Regions from separate parts of the Homo sapiens genome. Here all the other regions are linked to region 2. Evidence: promoter capture Hi-C in 16 types of primary human blood cells and fetal thymus (Javierre and others, 2016). All regions are on one chromosome and are shown on one strand. The core of a region is centred on a gene start or on the middle of the fragment in contact, and the rest is flanking DNA. Distances in the headings are between cores, read along the strand shown.

What was found. Contacts are between HindIII fragments. The CHiCAGO score rates a contact against its expected background, and 5 or more counts as called.
Region 1: a contact is called between a fragment that was not itself captured here and the fragment with the promoter of RNASEL in region 2, in 5 of 17 cell types (erythroblasts, M0 macrophages, M1 macrophages and 2 more). The highest score is 11.6, in erythroblasts.
Region 3: a contact is called between a fragment that was not itself captured here and the fragment with the promoter of RNASEL in region 2, in 2 of 17 cell types (erythroblasts and M1 macrophages). The highest score is 7.5, in erythroblasts.
Region 4: a fragment that was not itself captured here is called in contact with the fragment with the promoter of RNASEL in region 2 in 4 of 17 cell types (M1 macrophages, M2 macrophages, M0 macrophages and 1 more); the score reaches 6.7 in M1 macrophages.

The regions. Positions count from the first base shown.
Region 1 is chr1:182,079,339-182,082,038 of GRCh38, forward strand. No RefSeq gene overlaps it. Among named protein-coding and RNA genes, the nearest start is that of ZNF648, 19 kb to the left of the region's middle. The HindIII fragment of the contact is 317 bases long and covers 1,191-1,507 here.
Region 2 is chr1:182,587,969-182,590,668 of GRCh38, forward strand. It overlaps RNASEL (ribonuclease L), which reads right to left and starts at 1,288. Exons shown (of 7, transcript NM_021133.4): 1 at 1,199-1,288. RefSeq lists an enhancer at 1,004-1,163. The HindIII fragment of the contact is 1,344 bases long and covers 30-1,373 here.
Region 3 is chr1:182,125,552-182,128,251 of GRCh38, forward strand. No RefSeq gene overlaps it. Among named protein-coding and RNA genes, the nearest start is that of ZNF648, 65 kb to the left of the region's middle. The HindIII fragment of the contact is 3,573 bases long and covers 1-2,700 here.
Region 4 is chr1:182,096,638-182,099,337 of GRCh38, forward strand. No RefSeq gene overlaps it. Among named protein-coding and RNA genes, the nearest start is that of ZNF648, 36 kb to the left of the region's middle. The HindIII fragment of the contact is 935 bases long and covers 957-1,891 here.

The sequences.
Region 1 (2,700 bases), core at 99-2,598, 510 kb before region 2:
ATCAGTTAGGAGTCTTTGCAGTAATCTGGGTGAGGGATGATGGTGGCTTGGACCAGAGTTGTCACAAATGGTGAGAAATGGTCAATTTCTAGATACGTTTTAAAGTTAGAGCTAACATGATTTTGTTATATATTGGCTATGGGGTGTGAGAGAAAGAGAGGAGTCAAGGACAACTCTAAGGTTTTTGGCCTGAACAACCAGAAGGATGGAGCTGCCATTAAGTGAGCAGGGGAAGACTGTGGGAGAAACAGAGTTTAGGAGAGAAAGTCCAGGAGCTTCAGTTTGGATGAGGTTTCCACTTGGAAACATTGATGCGACAGTTGGAGAGGCATCTGGATTTCAAGATGAGGATCTTGGTAGAAAATACAATTTGAATTATCAACGTGTGGATTACACTTAAAGCCATCGGATTCTATGAGTCACCGAGGGAGCGTATACAGTGAAGAGATTCGAGGACTGAGCCCTGGACCAGTCCAATGTTCATAAGTAGGGGAGATGAGAAATGCCCAGCAAAAGAGGTGAAAAGATGTGGACAAAAGGTTTGAAGAGAAGTCAGATGTCTGTGATATTCTGGAGATCAAGGGAAGAAAATGGTTCAAGGAGAAGGGAGTGCCACATGATGTCAAACACTACTGAGAGTTCCTATTAATGAGAACTAAGAATTGGCCATCCAATTAAGCTACATGGGGATCAAACCTGATTGGAGTAGATTTAAGGGAGGAGAGGAATTGTAGTCTGTGAGTCTAAACAGATTATTCAAGGAGTGATTATGTGGGAATAGAGAAATAGGATTGTGTCCTTGGGAAAGTAAGAGAGGATGGGACTCAGGGCCTGTACAGGAGTGGCTTCGGCACAGGCAGCTGGTCCACAGCAAAAGGAGAGCGGAAGTCATGGACACAGGCACAGGGTGTGGCTAGATGTGGAGGTGGCAGCTTGAGGAAGTACTCTTGCTAGGGTTGCTTTTTCTCAGCAAAATAAGAAGCAAGGTCGTTGGCTGAGATGGATGATAGTGGAGGAAGTGTGGGAAGTCTAAAAAGAAAAAAGGCATAAAATATTCATTTGCAGAGTGAATGGGTTCATAATTGCCAGGTAGCAATAAAGGCCCATGCAAGGTTAGTGGTCATGAATTGAAGTTAGGCCAGCCAGGAAGATGGTGTGCTTTCCCCCAACATGTTGGCTGTGTGGGCAGAAGCTTGGAGTTCACCATTGTTAGAGTTTTGCCAGACAAATACAACGAAACTAAAGAAAGGTATAAAGATGAGGGGTTATGAAAAAGAAGTGACTAATGTGATGAAGCATGGAATTGAAGCCAAGTCAGATGCGGAGAGAGAGCCTGAGGGGAGCAGGACGAGTTAAAAGGTGGAAGGGCCAGACTTCCCCTGGGTGGAAGGATGGGTGGTGGTGGGATTTCAGGGGCAGCGAGCTGGGAAGTTTAAGGAGGTGCTGGCCAGAGAGGGAGTTGCACCAAATTGAGACTGCAGAGGGAGTGCAGTTGTTATTGAGGACAAGCTTTAGATTTGGGCCATTTGCATATTTGATACAGTAAAGGACAAGATCCTTGGAGAAGAGGAGCTCACAGACTCAGGGAAGCAAAAAGCCAGCTCCACAGAGTTGTAGTTCTTAGAATGATGACAAGTGGGGTTGGTGAAAATGATGGTGAACCAGGTGCTGAGATCCATATAAGGAATGAGAGGAAGCCCTCTGGGGTTTGTGGGAGACTTCATGGAGGAGTGGTGGATGCCACAGGCTGCTTATTCAAAGCTGGGGAGCTTTAAGAGAGAAAGAATGGTCTGAAATAGCAAAGGAGTGAGGAAGACACTTGCCCCACCTAGTGGTAGGAGGGATGTGGAAGAGAAAATTAATCCTCCACTTGAGAAGGAGCTATTCTCAGAAGAGAGCCATGTTTCATGAGAGCAAAAAGGGGAAGAGAAGATGTTGAGGATATAGGATATTGTTTCTATCCAGTGTAACCTGTTTCAATTACTTCCCACCATGCTTTGAACCTTCCAGACCAAATCCTTTGCCACCTGCCCGCTACCTCTCTACATTCCAGCCACACTGTCCTTAGCATGTTCCTTGGATATATCAAGTTCTTTCCAACCCTGGGGGCTTTGCACTTGCTGCCATGTTCTTTCCTTTCTTGAAATTGTACCTCTTCCCCACCCCAAACCCTTAAGTCTCATGTTGAGTGTCATTTCCTTAAGAAATCTTGCTGAACACCCTCTTTAAATCAGGTGCTGTGCTTGGTGCCACTGAAGCAATAGGAATCCACACACAGTTTCTATCTTCAAGTTAGTTTACAGTCAGATGAAGCAAAGAGGGGAGCAGATGGTTTGAAAGTGCCCTAAGGGCTTCAATGGGGTAAACCCAGAGCACATGGGAGCACACAGGAGAAACTATTAAATGAACCATAGTGGGGGTGGTGGGGGGGGGTGGGGGTGGGGGTGGGGGTGGTAGTGGAGGTGGGCGGTGGGCAGTGGGAGAGTTTCAGAAAATGGCTAAACAGAGGCCTGAGGATGATCAGGAGTTAATGAGGAGAGGGTGGGGGCTACTGAGAGAGTGTGGGGAGCCATGAGCTGGTCAGGATGGCTGGAATGTAGCAGGATATGGGGATGATGCTATAGGGGTGAGTGTCCCACAGCAGACCTGCGGGACATGCTATGGAGTTGGGCTCTTTCCCGGGGTCTCTGGAGGCCACTA
Region 2 (2,700 bases), core at 38-2,537:
TGAGACATTTAACACTTTATTATAAAATAAGCTTTGAGCTAGATGATTTTGCCCAACTGTAGCCTAATGTAAGTGTTCTGAGCACATTTAAGGTAAGCTAGGATAAGCTATGACGTTCAGTAGATTAGGTGTATTAAATGTGCTTTTGACCTACAATATTTTCAATTTAGGATGGGTTTATCTGTATGTAACCCCATCATAAGTCAAGGAGTATCTGCAGTAGTGAAAAGAGCTTGTACTCTGACCTTAGGGAGATCTAAGTTTGAGCTTGTGGCTGTGTAATTTTTTACTATTACTTCCTGTAACCTTGGATTGTTGAATCTCAATTTTCTATTTCCTGAAATGGAGACAAAAATAAATACAGTCATGTGTGTAAAGTACATTAAAGTATGGAGTGTTGCAAATATTAGCCACTCAATGAATGTTAGAGCTAATTATATCCCGTTATGAAAAAATAAATTGCTTAGTGAATTCTATTCTCCCTACACATGTGCATATAGCTACTACACGAATAGGCAACTGGCAGCTATCAATTTCGTCCAACTGTCAATCAGATCTGAGAATTACAGATCCAGTTCAATCATCAGACAGCCCGAAACTGTTACCTGAATATTTAAATAACTGCATCTGCTATAGAATTCACGAAGCAACCCTTTTTCAGCAATCTCACCACTCTGACAGTTTCAAAGCCTCAGAGGTTAATTGATTAGCCTCTTAGAAGTTTAATTAATTGTGCAACACATACACGATCACCAGGCAATGAAATCTTTGAACCAAAGTGTTTGTGTAGACCGTCCCCATTACAATCAGATGTGAGGTGGGCTGGTATAAACAAAGGAGCCGGGAAGGAGAGGAAATATCAAGGAAGCCCTGAGTGACGCATCAGAGTAGAGAAGAGACGAGCCTGCGGAAGTACTCCAACAGACAATCCTGCTTTCAATTTCACTTTCTCTGTGCGACCTGAGTAAGTCGCAAAGAGATGCCTGAGAAACTGAGGACATGGATAAATGACGTGTGGACTCTGACAGAACTCTGGAAGGGCACTGGAGGAAGATCCTTCCGGGCAGCCAAGGGCTGGGAGCTCCCCTCCCACTTCCCAAGTCCTCCAGCCCCTGGCCTCTCCAGTCTCCAAAGCCCAAGAATTCTTCAGGATCGACTTATCGAGGTTTTCTAGCTTTCCTCCTTCTGCCTGCCTTACCTGCTCAACTCAGACGTCTCAATTATTCCTTTGGCAGCCGCAAAGCCTGGAAGACTGCTTGCAGCCCGAGCAGTTTCCTCCTGCTGCGTCACTGAGTCAGCAGGGCGGAGCCAAGAAAGGAGTGAGGAGTGTGGGAGGGAAAGCAGCCACAGGCTCACTCTGGCACCAGGAGCAAAGCTTCTACTTGCACACCTTCTGGAGGAAAGCAATAGCCACTTTCTGTCTGCTGATGAGGAATGTGATGCCCGGGGTCATGTCACTCACCTCTCAGTCTTGCAGCCTTTCAGGTGGCAGCAGCCAACTGCATCCATCACTCTTGCATCCTTTCTTTGTCATTGCAAATTCTGGTCTTCTTGGAAGAAAGGAATGGAAAGTAAACACATATTGAGCACCTATTGTGTTCCAGACACAATGCTTTACATGCAGCATGGTCCCAGTTAACCCCTGACAATCTTGTTGATTATGAAACGCAGGCTCATAGAAGCTAAGTAAGCCCAAAGCCCAAGCCCTGTCACCTTTCTCAGCTCACTCAACTCACAGCTCTGAGGCAGTGCGGCCTTCTCAGAAGGGTACCGGACTGGCAGTCTGGAGACCTGATCCTACAGCCAGCTCTGTGGCTGCTTAGCTGAGTGACCTCAGGCATGTGATTTAACCATGTAGGGCCTCAGTTCTCTCCTATAACTTGGTTTTGAAGGTTCCTTTCTGCTCTACAAGTTCTGTTCTTGACTATCTTCCTAGCAATGAGCTGTGTACTGTGTACTTAGTGCTGTAGTGGAAAGTATTTCCATCCCCAAAGAATACCCAGTCTTGCTGGGGAGACAAAGCCCTGGGACTTGTGAACAACAAGTAGTGCATGGTCACTTGACGACCACCTGTGTCACACCATCCAGACCCGGGGCCTCTACCACCCCTTATACACCAGGGATTCCCAGGCCTCGCTCTCTAACCCCAGCCTCTCTGCTGAGCTTTAGACCTACAAATCTTGAATATGTGTCAAATGGAAATACTCATCTTTTCCTAAATCTGCCCCTCCTCCCACTTATTCCATCTCCACAGATGGCACCATCACCCGGAGGCCACCCCTCATCCTCATCCCAACACCAAGTCTCTTGCTTTCATCTACAAAGGGATGACCATTCGAGTCCTTGTCATCATTTATAGCAAGAAATTGATGACTTGCTTCCTAGCCCTTCATCCATTGTTCCACCCTGCATCATTGACCCACCATCATTTTCAGGACAAAGTTCAAAAATCCTTAACCCATTATTCATTTAATTAATACTTGTTGGACAGGCGTGGTGGCTCACACCTGTAATCCCAGCACTTTGGGAGGCCAAGGCAGGCAGATCACCTGAGTTCAGGAGTTCAAGACCAGCCTGGCCAACATGGTGAAACCGCGTCTCTACTAAAAATACAAAAAGTAGCCAGGTGTGGTGTTGTGCACCTGTAATCCCAGCTACTCGGGAGGCTGAGGCAGGAGAATTGCTCGAACCCGGGAGGTG
Region 3 (2,700 bases), core at 33-2,532, 460 kb before region 2:
CCCCCATACTCATTGCAGCATTATTCGCAATGCCAGGATAATCAAAGTGTCTGTTGACAGACGAATGGCTAAAGAAACTGTAGTACATATACACAATGGAATACTATTCAGCCTAAAAAAGAATGAGATCCTGCCATTTGTAAAAACATGGATGAACCTGGAGGGCATTATGCTAAGTGAAATAACTAAACACAGAAAGAGAAATACTGTATGATCTCACTTACATATGAAATATTTTTTTAAGTTGAATATACGGAGGTAGAGAATAAAAAAGTAATTACAAGAGCAGGGGCTGGGGAGGAAGGAAATAGGGAGATATAGGTCAAAATATAAAAAGCAGCAGATATGTAGAATGAACAAGTATAGAGATCTAATGTACAGCATGAAGACTACAGCTAATAGTATTGTATTATATTGGGGATTTTTGCTAAAAGAGATTTTAGTTGCTCTTGCCTCACACACACACAAAAATGAGTAATGATGTGAGATGATGGATATGTTAATTTGCTTGACTACAGTAACCATTTCACTATGTACATCAAAATGTCATCTTGCACACCTTAAATATATACAATAAAATTTAAATAAATTGCAAAAAAAATAGTAAGAATCATTTCTTGAATACCTACTATGTCCCTGGCACTCATCTGGGTAGTGTTCTGGTAGCATTCTAGGTGTATCTAGGGGATAGATTAGAGAAAAAGCAGATGAAAATTCCTACCCTGGTGGAGCTTATATCTTTGAATGTCAATTTCACACATTCAGTACAAAAGGGCATGCTGATATTTATCCTCATTGAAGCTGTTGACCTCCTTCAAGGGCTTGTCAATACCAGGACTGCTCAAAATGATTAACCAGATGATTTGGACTGCACTGGAATTTGATTAGTGGTAATTTGAAACATCCAATAATATTTGCCTTGCCTAGTGATAAGCAGATACTTGGCAAAGAGGATGGAGTACAAGCCTTGCTTTATCTCAGAACACAGACATCAGGGACTGTAGGAAAGAATGCTCTAGAAGGAGGTCCCCTCCCTGGGGCAGGCCCTGTGTTGGAATGGAATGCAGATTTCAGGTCGGAGAAGGCAAGTGGAGAAGGCCACTGTCCAGGTCTGTAGGTGGGACAGACACAGAGGGCTGGCTGTTTCCCTTGATGGTTCTCACCAGTAGCCAAAATCAGGGATCTAAAACAGAGTCTTTTAACAGGGCTGCTTTATGGAAGAGAGGGGCTAGAGTCGAAAACCAAAACTGCTCCAAAGTAGTCCAAAGAAGCTAATATGGAAACAGCCATTTTTCATAGACTTATTCATTTAGATTAGGATGATATGAATTGAAGAATCTTTTTTTTTGATATTGGTCAGAGACTTAGTGTAAGAAAATTGGGAATATTAAAAAGAAACAACATTGTGACTGGTCTATGATTTATATTACTAATAGTAAACTGCCATTGCTGAACATGCTTAGAAAACATTTTAAAGAAGCTCTGTAGAACTTAGGCTACAAGACTACAACCTGTATCACTTAAGGAAGTTATTATGCTCATAACATTGCCAACTGATGGAATGTGCCTCTGCTGACTTGTACCCAGGCCAGCCCACACCACAGACTGCAGTCAAGTCTTCTCTGCATGTCTTCATCAGCCCCCCACCCTCTGTTTATTAAGGCCACAGTGGAGCCAGCCTGGAGGAACAGGGCTAGGAAGGAGGGCGTGGATCCAGGAACCCAGTACAAATCACATGCAATTCCTCACTGTCTCTAATTTTTATTCTCCAGTGAAGATCAATGTAGGAGAGAAAGATAAATGCAAGGAGGGCACCTTGGGGAGTTAAGGGAAAGTAATGGTGCTGACTGCATGCTCTGGGAGTTGTTGTCTTCTCATATCTGTGCTAGCAGGGCAATTTTCTTCTTGCAACACCACATTCCCCTCTACCTTAACAGTGGATACCTGAACAGTTTATTTTGCCATTTAAAAAGATGCAGAATACTCCTCTCAATCCTTCAATCATACAGATTACAGGAAAAAAAAAAAGAGATTAATACAAGTAGAAATGAGCCTCGGTTTTGCCTCTGGTGTGTCACTGTAGAGGAATCACCTCTTTTTCTAAGCCCCTCTATTCCCTAGGCAGCACCCTAGGCTGTTGAGGCTACACGCCAGCTGGTGCAGCTCCACAGTACCATTCCTATTTGACAGATCTAAGAGGATCCCAGGTATGTAATAAATGGTCATGAGAGGTTCTGCTGACTGTGGACACCAACATACTTGCAGCTTCATTGAATGCTCTAGAAGGAGGTCCCCTCCCTGGGGCAAGCCCTGTCCTGGTAATGGAATTCAGACTGCAGGTCGGAGGAGGCAAGTGGAAAAGGCTGCTGTCCAGGCCTGCGGGTAAAACAGAGAAATGGCTGGCTGCATCTTCCCTTTCTCTATTTTCTTTCCTCCAGTGTATACAAAGTGCTGATGTAAAATTTTCTGATCTCCATCAGCAATCATCTTCAAATAGCAAAGTGGAGAAGGCAGCAAGAAGGGCAATAAACCCAGGGAAAGAAAAGAAAGAAGTCAGCAGCCATGGAGGGAGGCTCAAGTGAGTGGCAGGGGTGATGAGAAACCTGGCCTCCAGGTAGAGAGCACAATGTGAAACTGTGCAGGGGAAGTCAGTTTTCTAAACTGAAGGACACAGCATATCTGTTTTGATGATGTTAGTAT
Region 4 (2,700 bases), core at 174-2,673, 490 kb before region 2:
GGGTGAATTTTCTAATCTCTCCATACTTTATGGAGGGAAGGTATTCCTGACCATGGCATCCCATTGGGACTAGGAGAGGTACTCCTCACACCCTGTCCCAGAAGGCTCTTGGCCCTGGCTCTCTCCAAAGCCAATCTGATTCAGGGAGCCGTGGCTGCTGTACCACAAGACCTTTTTCCCATTGCATTTGGAGTATAGAGATTCAGCTTTCTGCCAATGCCACAATTACTTCTGGTTCAGGGAAGGTCTGAATTCTTGCAGAGATCTAGAAGGAGGTCATCAGTGTGGGCAGAAAATGGTCATAGGAAAGACTGAATGTCCCTACAGCCTTCAGCTGCATGGCCATTTTGCCCTGGGACATGGATAAAGAGAGGAGTAGGAGACCAGAGAGGAGCTATCTGAAGAACAACTATGCCAGCATTCTGCAGGCAAGACAACAGCTTTCCAGGAAATCTGTGGTCACCATAGCAAGATCCTGACCTGGCATCAGCTTTCAGGATGTTGGTGCAGGTTCAGAGGATGCTGTACCTTGTCCCTGAATACCTGGTTTCCTAGAAAGTACATGCAGAAGATGGCTCTGTCTGCATAGAACCTGCTTGGGTGTGCTCAGGTATCTACAGGTTGAAACTCTGAAAGCGGGTCAAGAACCAGGCTGGCCAACAGGAGGCATTTCTAGGATTGTTTTCTAAGAACAGGCATGATAAAATAACCACATTCAAGTTTTCTGTTTCATTCCCCTTATCAAGGGGACAAAGTTTGTAAGTGCTGCTCTGACCTTTACAACCATTGAAGAAGACACTTGACACAGTTTTGATGTCACTCTGAAATGCTCCCCTTGCTTGATTCTCCCTACCTGTTTTTCTAACACCCTATCCCTCCCACTGCACTTTCTCCTCAATCTCACTACCAGAATTTCAGAAAGCAATTCAATGCACAGTAAACCAGTAACAGCCTTAAGCTTTGTCTCTGAGTGACTTTGGTGCCCTACTGGTCCATACAACTTGTGGCAGTAACTTGCTTCTAGCCTGTTGAGCTCAGCAGCAGACCATGATTCACTCGGACAAGGACTGGCCCAACCCACAGTAGACACTGGGCTGGAGCTGGCATTTGTGAAGGCAGAGAATGCCACCCTCCCGTCACTTCAAGGATGCAGCTATTCTAGGGATAAACCCAGATCTGATGGGCTGTGTTTTGGAAAGCAGTTGATAACAGTGTTGTCATAGAAAACACCTACCTGGGGAGTTCCTTGGACCTTTAAAACAACATCTGTTTATTTAGCACAGTGCCTGTCACACAGGAGCCATTCAATAAACATTTCGTGGATATCTGTTGAATTGTTCTATCGACAAGAATTTAATGAACACCCAGAATTAGTTCTAGGTATCCAGGGAGAAATAAAAAGGAAGAGTGGCAAGTCCTGTCTTCAATGATTCTACAATTCAATGGTGAAAAGACTTACACATTGGAAGAGTAAAATCCCACCATGTGGCAGTCTATGATCAGGCATACCTGTGTACTGCAGTCCTGCCAGACTTGAGGGCTTAGAAAAGCTCTGCTTTGCTCAGCTTTTCACACTGACTAGGGTCCTACCCAACGTGCCTGTGGACCATCTGTGAGAACCTATGTAGGAGTGATGACTTTGCCTTGTGAAAGGAGATGGCCACACATCTATCCCTCTAAATGTTAAAGTTCTCCTTGCTCTAATTTGGTTAAAAGCATTTCGTAAGTATTGAAGTTGGTGTCACATAGAAGGATTATAGAGGACACGTTAGTAATGCTCGTCATGTAATGCTCATAACTTTGGCAATGAACATGATGATGGTAATGGGATTGGAATCGCTGTGATGAGGGTTTTTGCTGCTTTGCTAATGAAGAAATCAGTAAGGAATGAAGCTTCCAAAGGTCACACACACACACACACACACACAAACACACACACACATTTTCTTCATCCACTCACCAGTTGGTATATACTTAGGTTGATTCCATATCTTTGCAAGTGTGAATTGTGCTGTTATAAACATACATGTGCAGGTGTCTTTTTGGTATAATGACTTCTCTTCCTTTAGGTAGATACCCAGCAGCGGGATTGCCGGATTGAATGGCAGATCTACTTTTAGTTCTTTGAGAAATCTCTGTACTGTTTCCTATAGAGGTTGTAGTAATTTACATTGCCATCAATGGTGTATAAGCGTTCCCTTTTCACCACATCCGTACTGACATCTATTGCTTTTGTGACTTTTTAGTAATAGTTATTCTGATTGGGATAAGGTGGTATTTCATCATGGTTTAATTTGCATTTCCCTGATGATTAGGAATATCAAGCATTTTTTCATGTTATTTGGCCATTTGTATATCTTCTTTTGAAAAATGTTTGTTCATGTCATTTGCCCACTTTTCAATGGGATTTTTTTTTCCTTTGCTGATTTGTTTGAGTTCCTTGTGGATTCTGGATATTAGTCCTTTGTCAGATGTAGAGTTTGCCAATATTCTCTCCCATCCTATAGGTTATCTATTTACTCTGTTGATTATTTATTTTGGTGTGCAAAAGCTTTTTAGTTTAATTATGTTCCATTTATTTATTTTTGTGTTTATTTTGTTGCATTTGCTTTTGGGGTCTTAGTCATAAATTCTTTGCATAGGCCAACGTCCAGAGAGGTTTTCCTAGATATCCTTCTAGAATTTTTATGGTTTCAGGTC